Linked DNA regions of Homo sapiens: region 1 is linked to region 2. Evidence: promoter capture Hi-C in human tissues and cell types (Jung and others, 2019). All regions are on one chromosome and are shown on one strand. The core of a region is centred on a gene start or on the middle of the fragment in contact, and the rest is flanking DNA. Distances in the headings are between cores, read along the strand shown. Region 1 has its middle 29 kb from the start of CAVIN3. Region 2 holds the start of CCKBR (cholecystokinin B receptor).

Region 1 (2,729 bases), core at 171-2,670, 89 kb after region 2:
AAGAGCTCCCTCCATGTGAAATGAACCATTGAGAGCGAAGAAAAGCACTTTTCTCCAGTCGTAGTCAAGGTTAACCATCCTAATGGATAAAGAAAATGTGGGATATATTCAGCCCTTATAAAGAAGGAAATCCTTTCATTTGTGACAATATGGAGAAACCTGGAAAACATTATGTGAAGTAAAACAAGCCAGACACAGAAGGACAAATATTGCATGATTTCAGAAATATGTGGAATCTTTAAAAAGTCAAACTTATAGAAGCAGAGAGTAGAATAGAAGTTACCAGTAGCTGCGGCCAGGCGCGGTGGCTCACGCCTGTAATCCCAGCACTTTGAGAGGCCGAGGTGGGCGGATCACGAGGTCAGGAGATCCAGACCATCCTGGCTAACACAGTGAAACCCCGCCTCTACTAAAAATACAAAAAATTAGCCGGTCGTGGTGGCGGGCGCCTGTAGTCCCAGCTACTCGGGAGGCTGAGGCAGGAGAATGGCATGAACCCGGGAGGCGGAGCTTGCAGTGAGCCGAGATCGCGCCACTGCACTCCAGCCTGGGCGACGGAGCCAGACTCCGTTTCAACAAAAAAAAAAAAAAAAAAAAAAAAAAAGTAGTTACCAGTAGCTGGGGCTGGGGGTTGGGGTGCTGGGCGAGTAGGGAGATTGGGGAGACGTTGATCAAAAGGCACAAAAGTTTCCTCCAGTTAGACAGGAAGAATCAGCTCAGAAGATTTACTGTACAATACGATGACCATAGTTAATAACAATGTATTATACATTTGAAAATTGCTAAGAGTAGATTATGCTTTCTCACCACAGAAAAAATGTGTAAGTATTTGAGGTAATTGATATGTTAATTGGCTCAATTTAACCATTCTACAGTGTATTCATATATCAAAACATGTACACTAAAAAATCTATACCATTTATATTAGTCAACTTAAAAATTAATTTTTTAAAAAGATTAATTATCCTAGATAACAGCAGGACATCTTTTTTCCGTTTCTGCACATGGCATGAGAAATGTGACATGACCAGTTTCCAATTTCCAATGTAATGGGATCATCATTACAGGCACCTAGTGAAAATATCTCTCACTTTGTTTTTGGTTTTGTTGTTTTGTTTTGTTTTTGTTTTACTTTGAACACTAAGATGCTAAATACTTTGGTAGTAAAAGAATCTTGGTTAGAGAAAGACAGCATTTTGAGAATGGTTATTGAAGTATAATTATGAGTGGTGATGCTCCCATCTCCAACTCTTAATCCCTGGGCCTATGTGTTCTGACTTGGAGACATGAATATATGAATCTGGCAGAGAGCATAAATCACCAACAGCAAGACAAGATGCCTAACTCACAAGCAATTGTCCCCCAGCTAGGGTCAAAGCTGAACATTCATTTCTCTATAATGCCAGCAACTTCTGTCTGATAGGGTCTATATTAGCTTTCTAGAGCTGCTATAAGAAAGTGCCACAAAATTAGTGATTTAAAACAACAGAAACATATTCATTTGTTATCTTATGGTTCTAGAAGCTAGAAGCCCAAGGTCTCAGCAGGGCACTCTCAGAAGGCTCTGGAGAGGATCATTCTTTGCCTCTGGTAGCTCCCAGCAATCCTTGTCATTCCTTGGCGTGTAACTGCACCACTTCAATCTCTGTCTTCATTTTCACAGGTCCTTCTTTCCTCTGTATCCAAGAGTTTTCAAATCTTTCTCTCCTTATAGAGACACCAATCATTGAGTTTAGGGTCCTCCCTAATCCAGTCTGACCTTATCTTAATTTAATTACACATGCAAAGACCCTATTTTTAAATAAGGTCCTCTTCAAAGGTACCGGAGTTAGGACTTCAACATATCTTTTTGAAGAACACAGTTCAATCCACTGTAGGTCCCATAATGAAATCAATGAATGGCATGGACATTGGTTCTTTGCCTTACTTCTTTTTCTATGAAAAATTTCTTGACAGAGCTGTGATACATTAACTGTAAAAATGGACCCTGGCCGGGTGCTGTGGCTCACGCCTGTAATCCCAGCACTTTGGGAGGCTGAGGTGGGCGGATCAGAAGGTCAGGAGATCCAGACATTCCTGGCTAACACAGTGAAACCCCATCTCTACTAAAAATACAAAAAAAGGTCAGGAGATCCAGACATTCCTGGCTAACACAGTGAAACCCCATCTCTACTAAAAATACAAAAAAAAAATAGCCAGGCGTGGTGGCGAGCACCTGTAGTCCCAGCTACGCTGGAGGCTGAGGCAGGAGAATGGTGAGAACCCGGGAGGCGGAGCTTGCAGTGAGCTGAGATCGCTCCACTGCACTCCAACCTGGGCAACAGAGCAAGACTCAGTCTCAAAAAAAAAAAAAAAAAGACCCTATGCTTCCCCTGCCTCCCTGTATCCATACTTTTTGAAATGTGACTTTTCAATCCTTCCATCAAGAAAGTCTGTTTCCTCACACACTGAATCTAGACTGGCCTTATGGTTTGCTTTGGCCAATAGAATGCAGCAGAAGTGTCATCATACTATTTCTGAATGTATGCTTCAAACTTCTGGTCTCTCTTTTGGAAACCTGACCCTGCCATGTAAATAACACCAGGGTAACTTGATGCTTGATGAGACACATGTCCCAGTCTCCCATGTCACCCAGCCATCAGCCAGCCAACCACCAGACATGTGAGTGAGGCCATCCTAGACCAGTCAACCTGCAGCTGATCAACATGGTGACCCACAGATTCATGGGC
Region 2 (2,700 bases), core at 181-2,680:
TTCAGCCCCTATAAACTCAGGGCTGGCTGAACCAGGTCCTCTCCAAAAGATTAATTGGATAAGGGCCTGCTGAATCCCCCATAAAGCCAGACTCCATTCTCTAATTTGCTCTTCCACTGATGCCCGCCCCCAACCTCTTACAGCTACTGCTGGGGGTCAGAAGAATTTCACATCGTATTGGAGTTCATCCGGAATCTGAAGAATGGATAGGAATCTGGAGATAGGAATCTGGAGATAGGAATCTGGGGAAGAAAAGGAATGGATAGGAGAATGCATAGGGAGCAGGGCTGAAATAGTAGAAGAGGCAAATCCTGCCCCGAGAAGCTGAACCCAGTTCAGTCCTGCACCCTTCAGCCCTGTTCCCGCTGCACCGCAGTGACCCAGTCCCCTTCTAGCCCCCTCTCGTGGGAACCTGACACCCTACACAGGCAGCTCTGCCTGCACTGAGAGCAAACAGGGAGCGTTAGCGTGTCGGGTGGGCGTGGGCGCTGCCTGGAGACGGTGGAGAAAGCCAACCTTCTCCTTCTCTTTTGCCTGCGCTGGGCCGGCGTTAGAATTATATCCCATCCTCACCTTACTCTGGTTTATCCTTGTCAGTGCTTGCCACCACCCCCAACTGCCCTCAACACTCAAGTCAGAAGCTTCCTCCCGGGAGCCCTTTTCCCTGGCAAGGCTTCCCTGGAGCCAAATCTCGGCCCCGGCCCCACCCCCACTCCCGCCCAGCTGTGGAGGGCTCCTTGGGACCCTTAAGTGCAAGCCTGAGTGTTAAGCCTCAGACAGGAGATGGAGGGTGCGGAGACAGATGCAGGAGCTACCCCAGGCCCGCAGCGAGGAGCTGCAGGGAACTACGGTAGCAATAGTGTCACGGTCACTGCGGCCACTGCAACACAGTACGGTAAATGCGGCTCTAGGCTCAGACTAAAGCATCCGCGCCTCAGCAGGTGACGCACGCAGACCTGGTCTCCAACGCCACCTCCACGTTCCCTGATACACCAGAGAAAGATGCTGGATCCGTGGCAGCCGTCTCTACCCAACCCCTCCTACCCTCCCTTCCCCGAAACCTCCCCCTACGCTGCCAATACTCTTGTCTTCAATCTCTCTCTCTCTCTCTCTCTCTCTCTCTCTCTCTCTCTCTCTCTCTCATTCCTGGGAATCGGGGGTGGGGGCGGGTGATAAAGAGAGGTGGGCAGGAGAGAAATCTCTAAGAGGAGACGGGACACATCTAGGGAGGGGGCGAGCCTGGAGGACAGTCGCACAGGGAGGGGCAGAACTCCCGAGCCAGGGAGGGGGTGCACAGTCACCTGGCGGGACAGAGGCTGGCGGAGGGACGGGAACCCAGGCGGGGCGAGCCGCGGGAGAGTGGAGGGCAGGCGCCTGGGCTGGGGGCGGGGACCAGGCGGGGCAGGGGGCAGGGAGAGGAGGGCGGCGGGAGCCTGAGCCGGAATCGCAGCGTGAGCAGGTGGAGCCGCGTTGGGAGCCCGCCGGGTCGAGCTGAGTAAGGCGGCGGGCTCGGCGGGGGCCATGGAGCTGCTAAAGCTGAACCGGAGCGTGCAGGGAACCGGACCCGGGCCGGGGGCTTCCCTGTGCCGCCCGGGGGCGCCTCTCCTCAACAGCAGCAGTGTGGGCAACCTCAGCTGCGAGCCCCCTCGCATTCGCGGAGCCGGGACACGAGGTGGGTGCCTCCCTCAGCCCCCCCCACAAGCTATTTCTCACTGTACCCCAGAACACTAATAGAGTCCCCCCAACGAGCTCCACACTACCTTCTCAAACGTCCACACCGTGCCTCTCATAGTACTCCCTCAGCCCCCAAACAGCTCCCCTCACACCTTCACCCCCACAGCCTACAACTTCATCACAGCTTCACACCACCTGGTCGGAACTCCTTCACATCCTGGTCCCCTGAATACACCTAGAGCCCCTGCTCACCCCAAAGCACAGCCCCTTCCCCAACACGCAGCCCCTCCTAGACACCAGTCAGAAGGCGAGGACCTCCTCTTGCCAACCCTGCAGATCTCCTTTTCCCTCTTACATCCAGTTCACAGAGCCACAACAGAGAAGGGAAGGAAGAAAGGAAGGCAGGACTGGGAAAAGAAGGGGGCTGGTTGAGGGAGGGAGCACTCTGGAAAGCTTGAATGCGAAGCTGAAGTTGTGATCACATCTGACACCCCAGCCCCCAGCCATCCCAAAAAAGATCCTCAAATCTGAATTAGGCTGGACACTAGGGGATGCTCCTTAGAGCTGCCTGCCTCCATTTCACTCCTTCTCAAACCCCTCTGCCTCCCTAGTTGGAGCTTTCGAGGCTCTGTGCCCTCTCTCTTTGTCTGCAAGTAATGTCTCCAGCTATCTTCCAAGCTCTCTCTCCAGCCCTAGGCTAGGTGCTGGGGGCACAGGGCAAACTAGACCCAGTCTGGACCCTCATGGCCCATAGCCAAGTGCAGAGAGAAACCAAGCAAATGGAAAAATCACAGACACAATGGAAGTCCCATGAAAGGGTCTAAACTGTGGGCACCAAAAGAACTTCACAGAGGCTAGAACCTTAGAGCTGGGTCTTGAAGTTGAGTAGGCAGAAAAGGAAGGAGTGGGATTCTAGGTGAAGGAGCAATGTTAAGCAGAAGGAAATTTTTCTAAACTCAAAAAGGGAAAGTTGGAATAAATTGTAATCCAAGTATTTATTTACCCCACGAAATAATCTATGCTTTC

What was found. The method cuts DNA at HindIII sites, captures the fragments that hold promoters and counts their contacts. A contact is called where the count stands out against the background at its distance.
Region 1: a contact is called between a fragment that was not itself captured here and the fragment with the promoter of CCKBR in region 2, in 5 of the 25 tissues and cell types used here (H1 embryonic stem cells, hippocampus, neural progenitor cells and 2 more).

What each region holds. Positions count from the first base shown.
Region 1 is chr11:6,347,687-6,350,415 of GRCh38, forward strand. No RefSeq gene overlaps it. Among named protein-coding and RNA genes, the nearest start is that of CAVIN3, 29 kb to the left of the region's middle. The HindIII fragment of the contact is 9,857 bases long and covers 1-2,729 here.
Region 2 is chr11:6,258,408-6,261,107 of GRCh38, forward strand. It overlaps CCKBR (cholecystokinin B receptor), which reads left to right and starts at 1,431. Exons shown (of 5, transcript NM_176875.4): 1 at 1,431-1,672. The coding sequence starts at 1,522. The HindIII fragment of the contact is 2,957 bases long and covers 1-2,571 here.